Linked DNA regions of Homo sapiens: all the other regions are linked to region 3. Evidence: promoter capture Hi-C in 16 types of primary human blood cells and fetal thymus (Javierre and others, 2016). All regions are on one chromosome and are shown on one strand. Each heading gives the region's core, a stretch centred on a gene start or on the middle of the fragment in contact. The rest is flanking DNA. Distances are from core to core; before and after follow the strand shown.

Region 1 (2,700 bases), core at 28-2,527, 410 kb after region 3:
GGAGGCACAGACTGTTTCATCTTTTTCGGTATGCCCATTGTACATTGCATGGTACTTTACCCACTGCAGGATTCAAATATTTATCAGTAATTTGGTATAACCCAATGATGATGGAGCAATCCACAGAAAAATTAATTGCATAATTAGTTGTTTGAGAGCTGCTTCCATTAGCTAGGTGGTAAGTTCCTTGGGGACAGAGATGTACCTGTTCCTTTCCTGTCCTGGCACTAGGGCAGTGCCTGCACACAGTAGGTGCTCCATAAATGTTCGCTAAGTGACTAAGTCCAGGCTGCTCTGCCCCAAGCAGCCTTCCTTCTTGAGGAATCAAAATGAGAGCTTATTTGCTTTTCTCAGGGACCTCTGTCTGTCAAATGATTAGTCACCTATATGGACCAGACCCCTCAGCAGGAATTAGCTCTGATTAACATAGCAGAAAAGGGAAGCTCTTGGAATGGATGGGAAGGCAGGAGAAGAAGGCTTAGAAATTGGGCAGGAAATGAAGGAAGGAAGGCAAGAGGAAGACTTGGCCAAAGTCATGCCAGGGAGAGGCAGCTGACGCTGGCACCCTTGGGCACTGCCACCACCCGCACTAGATTCCCCCCTGCCCTGCCATGGCCAGCTGCCCCTGCAGTACATGGATTCTGTCTTGTTCCTGTGTCTTGGATCACTTGATTGAGAGTCAAGGCCTCAGAGGGAGGATCAGGTGGCTAAACCCAAGTGCTGTGCTGGGTGTTGGGCTGGGAAACGTTTAGCAGCTTGCTCACCAGTGGGAAAAGCCCGGATTTGCAGCATTTGCTGACTTCCATGGAGACATTCCCACCATGACTGATTTTTATTTGCCAACCATTTAACAACCAGCTCGAAGGATTCCTGAGAATGTAAAAGTTGGTGCTGGTGGGCTGGTGAGCTGTGCTCCAGCATACTCCTGTGTGTGCCCCATTGTCTGAGATTCCCACAGTAGGGAAAATCCCCTGGAAAGGAAGTGGGAAGGTTGCCAGGTAGCCCCGCAACACCAGTACATGTCCATATCTCAAAGCAATCCAGGGTATTGTGGCAGGGGCGCTATAACCCAAAGTGTGCTAGCCCTTCTACTTGTTAACAGGAGCTTTCAGAGATAATACCCAAAGGAAGGTGAACGATGAAATTTACGATTGTGGGGCAGGCCAGTGGGGCAGATGTTTGAAGGCAGAGGGGGATGAGGGAAAGATGTTTAGATCTGTACCCTTCAGATCTCAGTCAGTGTCCCTCCTATACTTGTAGCTCTCCAAGAACAAGGACCCAGCCCTGAATTATCCAATAAGTTGTCGGGAAACAGAGAAGCCTTCTCTAGGAGGGATTTACCTCGTTTCCCAGGTTTCAAGTCCAAGGACAAGAATAATTACAACAGTGGCTACTATTGTGTATAAAGAGCTTCCTGCATGTGCCAGGCATGTGTGAAGCACAGTCCTTCACCTAGGTAGCTTTTCTAAGGATAGGTCACTCATGGATAATCCCCCTGGGATTTGAGCCCAGGCTGTCTAATGGCCAAGCCATGTTCCTGATCACAAAGCCATCCTGACTTGGCCCATCTGTTGGTTGTCTCTGAATGAACCACAAGGCATGCCCACATTTTGGAAAATGGAAACCCATTCAAAACCCTGGAGCTCCCAGACACACATTAGATTAAAGAGACTGCAGAGACAATGTGGTCAAACTGATCCACACTGCCATCTGAGGTCTGCCCCTTGGCAGCTTCCTTCTATGTAAAAATGGATCCAGGGATGCCCAATGCCAGGGCTATGGTGGAGCCATGTTGGAGCACAGGACATCCGACACATCATAGGCTGTGAGTGTCATTATGCATTTTTAGAAGATTGTTTACTTAAGTCGAAATTACTACGGACATTTACTATTTTTGTTTTTAAAATCGTCTCTCAGACATCGCTTAGAGATATTCACACATCGATTTTAGAGTAAAGACGTCAAAATGTGGGAGACTGGCTTATTGAGCAGGCAGTACTCCTGGGATGTCATCATGAAAGTAACTGATTTTTGTCTCACGTTTTCCCTTGAAATGTCCCTCAGAATTGCCTTTTCTGGTTCTGGATGAAGTCTCAGGTCAGTTCCATGTCTTTCCTGGTCACTCTTAGGGGCATAGGATGTTGGAGGTGACAACAGAGACAGCCTCCTCTCCAGAGACTGGTTACATGCAGTGCCGGCTGATAACCAGAGTCTCTGCCTTCCTTCACAGTGACAGCTGCTGCCCCTCCACTGTAGGACCTACTGCAGGCAAGAGCCTGCTGCACAGGAATGGGGGAAGAGAAATGGTCATTGTCTCCCTTTCCAGTCCTCTTCCACAGCTTGAAGACGACAGACAAATTCAGACTCTTCTGGCTGAGTGAAAGTCACATCTTTTTTTTTTTTTTTTTGAGACGGACTTTAGCTCTTGGCTGGAGTGCAATGGCGCAATCTCGGCTCACTGTAACCTCTGCCTCCCGGGTTCAAGCAATTCTCCTGCCTCAGCCTCCCAAGTAGCTGGGATTACAAGCGTGCACCATCACACCTGGCTAATCTTGTATTTTTAGTAGAGACGGGGTTTCACCATGTTGTTCAGGCTGTCTCAAACTCCTGACCTCAAGTGATCCACCCGCCTCAGCCTCCCAAAGTACTGAGATTATAGGCATGAGCCACTGCGCCCGGCTGAAAGTTACATCATTTAAG
Region 2 (2,700 bases), core at 60-2,559, 430 kb after region 3:
ATTTGCATTTCTCAAATGATCAGTGATCTTGAGCTTTTTTTCTTACGCTTGTTGGCCACATATGTCTTCTTTTGAAAAGTGTCTATTCATGTTCTTTGCCCACTCTTTAATTAGGTTGTTTTCTCCTTATAGATGCTGAATATTAGACCTTGCAAATATTTTCTGCCATTCTGTAGGTTGTCTGTTTACTTTGTTGATAGTTTCTTTTGCTGTGCAGAAGCTCCCACATTTTATTAGATCCCATTTGTCAATTTTTGCTTTTGTGGAAATTGCTTTTGGTGTCTTCACCATGAAATCTTTGCCAGTCCCTATATCCAGAATGGTGTTGCTTAGGTTGTCTTCCAAGGCTTTTATAGTTTTGGGTTTTACATTTAAGCCTTGAATTCATCTTGAGTTGATTTTTGCATATGGTGTAAGGAAGGGGTCTAATTTCAATCTTCTGCATATGACTAGACAGTTATCCCAGCACCACTTATCAAACAGGGAGCTCTTTCCCCATTGCTTGTTTTTGTCAGCTTTGCCAGAGATCAGATGGTTGTAGGTATGTGGCCTTATTCAATGCTATTCCTATCAAACTACCAAGGACATTCTTCAGAGATCTAGAAAAAACTATTTAAAAATTCATATGGAACCAAAAAAGAGCGCAAATAGCTAAGGCAATCCTAACCAAAAAGAACAAAGCTGGAGGCATTACCTTACTCGACTTCACATTTTACTACAGGGCTACAGTAATCAAAACAGCATGGTACTGGTACAAAAACAGACATTTAGACCAGTGGAACAGAGCAGAGAGCCCAGAAATAAGGCCTGATTTTCAATAGCTGTGAAAAATGAAAAAGCATCCGTAAATATGTGTCCTTTGAGGTATAACATCCACCAGTGGATTTCTTTGGTTAGATGGTGTATATGTTTGACATTTAACCAAAGCTTCTGGCCAGCGTTCTTCATCCAAAGGACAGCAATTCACTCTCCCACTAACACTGTATGAACTGTTCCATCTACACCTTCATAAGCACTGAATGCTATCAAGCTTTTTAATTCTTGCCAATATGATTTGTGAGAAATGCTATCATGTTACCTTATAAAATACATTGCATTTCCCTGTCTAGTGAGTCTGGGGATCTTTCATTTATTGACCATTTTCATTTCCCTTCCTATGTATTGCCCAGTCACGTCCTTTCTGCATATTTCTATTGGGTAAGTTTTTTTCCTTATCAGTTCCAAGAGCTCCTTATATATTACAGATATTAACTCAGAAATCAAGAATGTTGCAGATATTTTCCCCAATCTGTTCTTGTGTTTTAACTTTTATTACTTTTTATTTATTTATTTATTTGAGACAAGGTCTTGCTCTGTTGCCCAGGCTGGAGTGCAGTGGCCCAATCACGAACTCCTGGGCTCAGACAATTCTCCCACTTCTGCCTCCATGCCTGGCTAATTTATAAATTTTTTTTGTAAAGACAGGGTCTCCCTAGGTTGCCCTGGCTTCTCTTGGCGTCCTCAAGTGATCCTCCCACCTTGGCCTGGCAAAGTGTTGGGATTACAGTCATGAGTCACTGCACCTGGCCATGTTTTAACTTTTTATAGTCAAGCTTGTCTTTTCTCTTCTGGATTCTAGATTTCCTGTTATGCATAAGCAATACCCCCCACCCATGCCATGCTCCAATCTTGAAATTATACACATTTTCTCCTAAATTTATTCCATTTTTTTATTTTTCATTTAGGGTTAATTCATTCATAATGATTTTATTCATGGCTGGAGGTGTTATTTTCCAGATCAATAACCAATTATGTTAGCAGTATTAATTAAATAAATCATCTTCTCTCCCACTGAACTAAAATGCCATCTTTATCATGTATTAAATTTGAATATATACTCAGATTTTTTTTGACTTTCTGGTCTTCTGATCTGTACACTTATTTATAAGCTAAAGTCATACAGTTTTAAAATTATTATATTAGTTTTCTAGAAAGTTTTAATAGCTGGTAAGGGAATCCCACCCACTGTCTTTTCACAATTAAATATTTTTGTTGTCAGTTCTAAAACATTTAGAATTTCTCCAATATAAATGCTAAGTACTTTTTGTATAGCCCCAGGAAAACACCATTGATATTCTGATTGGAATTAATTTAAGGTACATATTTATTTGGAAATCACTGACATTTATGATGATTAATTCTTCCCATTCAAGGACATCCTGTGTCTCACAATTAGTTGAAATATTGTTTTTACACCCTGTAACAAAATGTATAGCTTTCTTCATGGAGGTCTCATAATTTTTGGTAAATTTTAACAGTTAATTTTTCTAAGTAAATAATATAATGGCTATACAGCACTTAACCCAAAAATCCAGTGTGTAGTAACTATTACAAATGTTAGGTATTAAAATTATTGTTGTTATTTTGATTATTAGCTTTACTTATTCTCATTGAGTAAAATCATAGAAAATATAAAGCTTGAAAAAGCTCTTTGCTGGTTAACTCACATGGACCCTCGATATTGTAAAAATGTAATTTCTCCCCCAAAATTGATCTATAGAATCAATACAATTCCAATAAAAATTCTAGGAGATTGTATGTGTGTGTGTAAATTCACAAGTTGCTTGTAAAATTTATATAGAAAGACAAAGAGCCAAAAATAACCAAGCCAATCTTGAAGGAAAATAAGAGGACTTATACTAGAGGATATTGAGACTTCTT
Region 3 (2,700 bases), core at 197-2,696:
CTGCCACTGCTGGGCTGTTTCCCTCTTTGAGGACCTGGTCTCCGCAGCATTTATTCATTAGATGGCAGTCCTAGGGGAGTCTCGCTTTGGGGAAACCTCTCCTCCTGCACATTCAAGAAAACAACCGCGGAGACTTAGGGTCGGTACTGGTTTCCAGTCACTTACGTAGCAAACGAAGCAAGAGGAACGTGCCTGGGAGGACCCGAGACAGGTGCGGGTGGGTTTCCGCAGTAGCCGCTGATCCCGAGTGCATGCGGCGTGTTCCCGGGTCGGGACCGCGGCCAAGGGAGGCTTCCCGGCCCCAGCCTCCACCCCCTCCTCGGCGCCCCGGGACCCGGACACGCCCCCCGAGCTTCGGAGACCCGCAGCGTGCACGCGCCCCGGCCGCTCCCCGCAGCCGCCCACGTGGTGGAGCCCTGAGCTGCGCGAGGCCGCGGAGAGCGCTCAGGGCGGGCGGCTGGTCCGGGAGGCCACGCCAGCGCGACCCAGCCGAGTCGGCCCCCAGCCCGGGCCCCCACATTTCCTCCCCCGGAGGGAGGGAGGCGACTCTCCGCGGGCTGCCCTCCCCAGCGCCCGCCGCGCCCTCTGGCGGCCGCCGCGGGGACGCGCCCGGGGCACGCGGCGCTGCCTGTCTGGGCCCCCCTTCCGGGGCGCGGGGCCCGCGAGGGGCGGCGGGGTCCTCTCTCCTCGAGCCACTCTGGGCCGAGCCACACGGGCCGCGCCCTTCCCCCTCCGCTCCCCCTGAGCCCCCAAACTCCGGGCTCCACGGTCGCAACGCCGCGGGCACCCCAGCCTGGCGTGAAAGTGCCCGGCGTAGTAGCCTGGGGGGGGGGTCCCCTTTCTCCCAGGTGCGCCCCTTCCGCCACGTTCGGGCTTTCCAGTACGCAGCGAAAAAAATGCCGCATGCACGCATTTATTTATTTTGCAACAGCTGCAAGAAACAATGAAGCTTTTCAAGAACCGGGGAAACGCGCTTTCCAGCCGCGCTGTTGTTGTTTTCAATGAACCTCTCCCAGCCCCGCACTCCCCGCCCACCCCTCCCCTCTCCTGCCCACCCCTCCCCTGCCTAGCCTTTCCCTGGCTACCCACCCCTGCCCCGCCGAGACCGGACCGGCGGCGGGGGCATTGTTTTTGGAGTCGGGCGGGAGGGGAGGGCGCGTGCGGGGTGGCCGGCGCAGTGCGGTGGGGGCGGGAGCGGGTGGGCACGCGCGCGTGTCTCTGTGTGCGCGCGGGAGGCGGTGGGGCGGGAGATGGGGGCGGCGCCTCGCAGTCTCGCGCCCCACGCCCGGGCTCCGCTCCGCACGTCTTGGGGAACCGGGCTCCGGTTTTTTGCGCGCGCCGGCCTGGGCCGGGCCCTCGGCGCGCCGCTGCTGCGGCGGTGGCCGCTCGAGTGTGCGAGCGGGCGCGTGTGCGCGGGCCAGGGCGCGCGCGCGCGCGCGAGCCCCCAGTGTGTGGCAGCGGCGGCGGCGGCGCGGCGAGGCTGGGGCTCTTGTTTACCAGCATTAACTCCGCTGAGCGGAAAAAAAAAGGGAAAAAACCCGAGGAGGAGCGAGCGCACCAGGCGAACTCGAGAGAGGCGGGAGAGCGAGAGGGACGCCGCCAGCGAGCCTGCCCACGGCCGGCGCTCGCAGACCCTCGGCCCCGCTCCCCGGATCCCCCCGCGCCCTCCACGCCCCTCCCGCGCGGGGGCAGCTCCACGGCGCGCCTCGCCTCGGCTGTGACCTTCAGCGAGCCGGAGCCCCCGCGCAGAGCAGGCGGCGGCGGGCGGGGGCCGGGCGGGGGCCGGCGCGGGGCGGGCGGCGGCGCAGAGCCGGGCGGCGCGGCGGGAGTGCTGAGCGCGGCGCGGCCGGCCCGCCGCTTTGTGTGTGTCCTGGATTTGGGAAGGAGCTCGCCGCGGCGGCGGCGGCGCTGAGGGAGGAGGCGGCGGCGAGCGGAGCCAGGAGGAGGAGGAGGAGGGGGAGCCGCTCATTCATTTTGACTCCGCGTTTCTGCCCCTCGCCGGCCTCGCCTGTGACCCGGACTTCGGGGCGATCTTGCGAACTGCGTCGCGCCCTCCCGCGGCGGAAGCTCGGGCGTCCGGCCGCCTCCCGCGCGGCCAGGGCCGGGCTTGTTTTTCCTCGCCTAGGCAGATTTGGGCTTTGCCCCCTTTCTTTGCAGTTTTCCCCCCTTCCTGCCTCTCCGGGTTTGAAAATGGAGGCCGACGACGCCGACAGCCCGCCCCGGCGCGCCTCGGGTTCCCGACTCCGCCGAGCCCTGGGCCGCTGCTGCCGGCGCTGAGGGGCCGCCCCGCGCCGCCCGCCCCGTCCGCGCACCCGGAGGGCCCCGGCGGCGCCGCCTTCGGAGTATTGTTTCCTTCGCCCTTGTTTTTGGAGGGGGAGCGAAGACTGAGTTTGAGACTTGTTTCCTTTCATTTCCTTTTTTTCTTTTCTTTTCTTTTTTTTTTTTTTTTTTTTTTTTGAGAAAGGGGAATTTCATCCCAAATAAAAGGAATGAAGTCTGGCTCCGGAGGAGGGTCCCCGACCTCGCTGTGGGGGCTCCTGTTTCTCTCCGCCGCGCTCTCGCTCTGGCCGACGAGTGGAGAAAGTGAGTATGTGCCCGCCGCCCGCGGCCACTGCGGGAACTTTTCCTCCGAGGGGCTGCGCCCTGTTTGCGAAACCCGAGTTGCCACCGTCGCAGCTGTCGGGCCCCCGGGCTCGGGAG
Region 4 (2,700 bases), core at 44-2,543, 470 kb after region 3:
AGCCTGGGTAATTTACAAAGGAAAGAGGTTTAATTGACTCACAGTTATTCCGCAGGGCTGGGGAGGCCTCAGGAAACTTACAATCGTGGCGGAAGGCAAAGGAGAAGCAAGAACCTTCTTCAGAAGGTGGCAGGAGAGAGAGAGAGCTCAGGGGAAACTGCCACTTTTAAAGCATCAGATCTCATGAGAACTCACTCCCTATCATGAGAACAGCGTGGGGAAAATTGCTCCCATGATCCAGTCACCTCCCACCAGGTCCCTCCCTCAACACGTGGGGGTTACAAATCGAGATGAGGTTTGGGTGGGGACCCAGAGCCAAACCGTGTCACAGGATTTGGACCCAGGAAGTCTGTGTCTATCTGCTTGATTGTTGCTTTGAATCTCAGGGCTCTGATGCCACCCTGTGTGGGTTTGGCCCTGAACTGAATCTCTTCCAAGAGATTAGCATGGTGCATGCTAATGTAGGCCAACTGGCTTTATGTATCAAGATGTTGACTTGAGTTCAAGGTAACCAACTCTGATGAAAAGGTCACAAAGCGCTCAAAGGGGCTGGGTGCTGGGTGGGGCAGAGAATGCAGTCCAGTCCCCCTGGGTGTGGCCTGCAGGCCGGCGGAACAGTGCTCCTCCCCTCCTTGGCATCACCCTCCTTTCCCCTGGGTGCCAGTGCGTCTTTGATTGAGGTGGTGCCCCTTGTTTCCTGGCAGCTCTCATGCTCAGGGCAGCTATGAAGGAGCCAGGGTCTGTGACGCTTACAGTGGAAGGAATTTTAGAGACCCAGTTGCCCAACTTCAGGAACACTAACAATAGCCAGCTTTATGGCGTCCTTACTGCCTGCCAGACGTGGTGCTGAGTTCTTTGCCACTATTCTCTGCTCCGAGTCAACTCTGAGGTGGGCACCACTCTCCCCTCTTAGAGGTGAGAGAGAGAGGCCGGGAGGTTGGGGCTGCAGGCTGGTGAGGGGCAGAGCCAGCCAGGTCTGGTGCCAAAGCTGTGCCATCCCCACCAAGCCGTGTAAAAAGGGCACAGTGCCTGCTCCGTTCCCAGGATTGTGGAACATGTGGCAGTGGAGGGTGTGAGCAAGCTGTGGAAACCGCTTTGGCAGAAGAGTCAAAGTCTGGTCATCTCCAGTGGTGTCTCCTTCACAGGTGGCAGATTAAACCTGGAGAGGTTAAGAAGGGGACCAACTCCCCTGGTGAGGGGTAGAGCAGGGACCATCCCCAGGCCTAGTTCAGCACATCTTGTAGGCTGCCTGTGTAATCTTCTGATCATGATTTTTTTTTTCATTTTTTTTATTATTTTTTATTTTAATTTTAATTTTATTTATTTTATTCTATTTTTTTTTTTTTGAGATGGAGTCTTGCTCCATCTCCTAGGCTGGCATGCAGTGGCACGAGCTCAGCTCACTGCAACCTCCGCCTCCTGGGTTCAAGCAATTCTGTTTCAGCCTCCTGAGTAGCTGGGACTACAGGCCCCTGCCACCATTCCTGGCTGATTTTTGTATTTTTAGTAGAGACAGGGTTTCACCTTGTTGGTCAGGCTGGTCTCGAACTCCTGACCTCAGGTGATCCACCCACCTCGCCGCCACAAAGTGCTGAGATTACAGGTGTGAGCCACTGCGCCCGGCCCTGATCAGGATTTTTTGCTCTAAGAATATCAAGGTGACCTGAATTGCTTTGATGTCTATTAAAAGGGTATCTGGCTGATACGTTGCTTGTAGTTTACATTGCAGCCTGGGCCGGCCTCACTGTCTTTATTTTCTGGAAGACTTACATCAGCCAGGGTTCATCTGAGCCCTCACTCCCATCAGTGAAGAGGGAGCAGCTCTATCAGGCAGCCCCTGGCCTGGGCCCCAGGAGGCTGCTAAGGGGTGAGGCCTTCCCAGGGACATGGAGTCCATGGAGGAGCCACGGCTTCACCAAGGGATGAATTGAGGGGTGGTCCTGGGGCTAAGGCCATGAGGGCCTTTCTGGATCCCCCATTTGAGAGCCTTGCTGCCACTGAGGGGCTGGTGGCCGGGGCTCAGAGAAAGGGGAAAAGATGTTGCCAGACTGGACTTCCCAAAGCCCATTGTTGGCATTCTCCTTGGAAATCTTGTGGGGTGAACAGTTGCACAATTAAATTGGTAGGGCATTGAAACACACGTTGAGTTAGATGATCTAAACTTTAATATGGAAAACTTGAAAACACTCGGGCTTTATTTGGGGGAAGAAAGCATTAATCAGGAATTTTTCATTTGTGAGTGACAGAAACTCTCCTCAGACTGCCCCAAGTCAGAAAAAGAATTTATTACTCATATACCTGAAAGTCTTGTGCTGGTCTACTCTGTGTTATGAAGGAATAACTGAGACTGGATAATTTGCAAAGAAAAGAGGTTTATTTTGGCCCACAGTTGTGCAGGCTGTACCGGAATCGTGGTGCTGGCATCTGCTCCTGGTGAAGCCTCAGGAAGCATACAGTCATGGTGGAAGGTGAAAGGGCAGCAGGCATGTCACATGGCAAGAGAGCGAGCAAGAGAGTGGGGAGGTGTCAGGTTCTTTTTTTTTCTTTTTGACATGGAGTCTCACTCTGTCACCCAGGCTGGAGTGTGGTGGTGCGATCTTGGCTCACTGCAACCTCTACCTCACGGGTTCAAGCAATTCTCCTGATTCTCCTGCCTCAGCCTCCCGAGTAGCTGGGACTACAGGCACCTGCCACCATGCC
Region 5 (2,700 bases), core at 74-2,573, 370 kb after region 3:
CAAAAAAGTGCAAAAATTGGCCAGGTGTGGTGGTACACACCTGTAGTCCCAGCTACTTGGGAGGCTGAGGTGGGAGAATCACCTGAGCCCAGGGAGGTTGAGGCTGCAGTGATCTGTGATGGTGCCACGGCACTCCAGCCTGGACGACAGAGACTTTGTCTCAAAAAAAAAAAAATATATATATATATATATATACATATACATATATATACACACATATATGAAGGAAGGAAGGAAAGCAAGCAAGCATCACTTCACAGCATCTCTTTGGCATTTCTGAATTGCCAGCATCCCTACTTTTACGCTTTGGGGCAGTGATTAAATAAGAATTACTTGAACACAAGCACTGTGACGCCAGGACAATTAATCTGATCATTGAGATGGCTCCTCACTGACTAATAGACAAGGAGCATTGACAGCGTGGATCCGTTGGACAAAGGGATGATTCATGCCTCCGGTTGGACAGATCCAGATGCCTCGAGATTTCATCATGCTACTCAGAACAACATGCAATTAAAAACTTTCCAACTGTTCATTTCTAGAATTTTCCATTTAATATTTTCAGACTATGGCGGTCTGCAAATAATTGAAGCCTCGGAAAGCAAAACTGAGGATAAGGGGGGACTACTGTATTGTTATGATTCTCATTTCACTGGTGAGGAAGCTGAGGCACAGAGACGAAGTAACTTGCCTAAGGTCACCTGGATAGTAAGTGGCAGTGTGGCCATGGGGTTGGTGGCGGTTTGACTCCACCCAGAGAAAGGAATCTGTCATGAGGGTGAGGTTCAAAGTGGATGCTCCCTCCCCTCCAAAAAGTGGGGGTCCCCTCCAAAAAATTAGAGGCCCAGAAAGTAAATAATTTATGATTCAGTTTCTAAGGGGACTCCTTCAGAGATGACCTCATGTAGACATAAAATTTTAAAAAACCAGAGGCGGGTGGATCACTTGAGGCCAAGAGTTCGAGACCAGTCTGGCCAACATGGTGAAACTCCATCTCTACCAAAAAAAATACAAAATATAGCCGGGCACAGTGGCTCATACCTGTAATCTCACCTACTCGGGAGGCTGAGGCACGAGAATTGCTTGAACCTGGGAAGTGGAGGTTGTAGTGAGGCAAGATTGCACCACTGCACTCCAGCCTGGGTGACAGAGTGAGACCCCATCTCAAAAAATAACAAAAAAACTCTCCCAAACCAAATAGTCTTCAGCCATTTTGGATCTTCTCTAGTCCATGGTGTGTAAGTGTCTGTAGGGGAACGTGGACCCAGCACGTCTGGGATTTCAGTTCTTGGGGAGCAGGGTCTCGCTGGGGACCATGGGCAGGGACTGGGCTGGATATTTGGACTCATAACACTGCCACAGACTATTCCCATTCCTTCATCAGTGTGAAAGGAAAGGATGAGGTGGCCTCTGAAAGTCTACCTGGCCATGGAGGTTGTCAGTTACTTCTCACCCAAGCAGATAGTATAGTCTATCTGCTGTAGGAAAGTTTGCTAGGAGGGATTTTTTTGTGATTGGGTGTATCGACGAGCTGGCTTGCCACCACCTGGCCAGGGCTCTGGGCAGCCCATCCCCTAGAATGTCTTTCCAGGGGTCCTGTTCTTCCTGGGAGGGCCGGGTCCACAGTGAGTTCCCCTGATGGCCAAGGCGTCTGTATTTCCATCTTCTGTTGTGATTCCTTGCCATGTAGTGGCATCTACACTAGAGATGGCTCTTATCACCCCCTTTCTACACATCAGGGGCTGTAGGATATCTGTATGAAATGGGATCTCCACAGCATAAGATGGCTGGTGTCCTGTCCCTCTCCACATGGGTCCTGCCATGGCCTGGCAGGACAGAGTGAATGACCAGACTTGGATAGGGTGGTGGCAGGGCAGTGGATGCTGAGTGTTGTCGTTTTGAACTTTGAAGCCCTAGTCTGGCGGCCAGCTGACCGGCCTTTGCTGGGCTCCTGACATTGGCTGGCTGCTGGTTCCTCTGGTATTCAGATTTACAGCTCAGCCCTGGGAAATTCAGAGGACTGTAGAAAATGGCTGTTTTGTGGTATAGAAAGAAACTTTAGGGAAAAATGTAAATGCTTGGTCAGATGCCCCGGGGGTCACATGACTTTTAAAGTCAGGGTTGCTGGAAGGCTGGGGAGCAGTTGCAGGTCAGTGACACCTGCTGGACCTGAAGGTCTGGGACTTTGGCACACAACAGTGGTGGTTTAGAAATGCCATGCCTTCTAGTGTGCCCACCTGTGGTTGTTGGTTTGCTTTTCCTAGGCCAGTAGTCAGCAGGCTTGGGCAGAGGTGGGGCACACAGGCTGCGTGAATCCAAAGGCCACTGTTGAAATCCAGCCATGTCCCTCCACCCACCACTGCTCTTCTCCTTGTCTTTCTTTCCTGTCCCATTCTCTGGTCCACTCTGTGCCTTCTCACTTCAAACCTTTTGCATTCTATATCCCCAGGCAATGGCTTCATTTCCCTCCTAAGAGGAACCTGCTCAAACCAATGCCTATTAACTCTCAAGGCACAGAAAACTTTCCATGCTTCTTTGCTCTTCCAAAGCAGGGCAGCCACAGAACCACCAGGAACTGCCCTGAGGCTGAGGCCTGGGAGTGCCTGGGGAGGGCAAGAGGGGAACTCCTTGTGATGTGTGTGTGTGTGTGTGTATGTGTGTGTGGAGGAGAGGCTCCCATGGCCCAAACCCTCATAGACC

Evidence for each region. Contacts are between HindIII fragments. The CHiCAGO score rates a contact against its expected background, and 5 or more counts as called.
Region 1: a fragment that was not itself captured here is called in contact with the fragment with the promoter of IGF1R in region 3 in 1 of 17 cell types (fetal thymus); the score reaches 7.9 in fetal thymus.
Region 2: a fragment that was not itself captured here is called in contact with the fragment with the promoter of IGF1R in region 3 in 5 of 17 cell types (endothelial precursors, fetal thymus, M0 macrophages and 2 more); the score reaches 12.6 in endothelial precursors.
Region 4: a fragment that was not itself captured here is called in contact with the fragment with the promoter of IGF1R in region 3 in 1 of 17 cell types (fetal thymus); the score reaches 5.0 in fetal thymus.
Region 5: a fragment that was not itself captured here is called in contact with the fragment with the promoter of IGF1R in region 3 in 2 of 17 cell types (fetal thymus and M0 macrophages); the score reaches 6.0 in fetal thymus.

Annotation. Positions count from the first base shown.
Region 1 is chr15:99,061,392-99,064,091 of GRCh38, forward strand. No RefSeq gene overlaps it. Among named protein-coding and RNA genes, the nearest start is that of SYNM, 42 kb to the right of the region's middle. The HindIII fragment of the contact is 7,563 bases long and covers 1-2,700 here.
Region 2 is chr15:99,078,417-99,081,116 of GRCh38, forward strand. No RefSeq gene overlaps it. Among named protein-coding and RNA genes, the nearest start is that of SYNM, 25 kb to the right of the region's middle. The HindIII fragment of the contact is 562 bases long and covers 1,029-1,590 here.
Region 3 is chr15:98,647,093-98,649,792 of GRCh38, forward strand. It overlaps IGF1R (insulin like growth factor 1 receptor), which reads left to right and starts at 1,447. Exons shown (of 21, transcript NM_000875.5): 1 at 1,447-2,583. The coding sequence starts at 2,490. It overlaps IRAIN (IGF1R antisense imprinted non-protein coding RNA), which reads right to left. Exons shown (of 1, transcript NR_126453.2): 1 at 1-2,700. RefSeq lists an enhancer at 1-170 and silencers at 182-231, 242-711, 772-831, 1,202-1,471. The HindIII fragment of the contact is 3,709 bases long and covers 948-2,700 here.
Region 4 is chr15:99,114,137-99,116,836 of GRCh38, forward strand. All of the region lies in intron 2 of SYNM (synemin), which reads left to right. Among named protein-coding and RNA genes, the nearest start is that of SYNM-AS1, 9.6 kb to the left of the region's middle. The HindIII fragment of the contact is 9,267 bases long and covers 1-2,700 here.
Region 5 is chr15:99,019,323-99,022,022 of GRCh38, forward strand. The region is part of intron 1 of LUNAR1 (leukemia-associated non-coding IGF1R activator RNA 1); the gene reads left to right. Among named protein-coding and RNA genes, the nearest start is that of LUNAR1, 6.0 kb to the left of the region's middle. The HindIII fragment of the contact is 4,877 bases long and covers 1-2,700 here.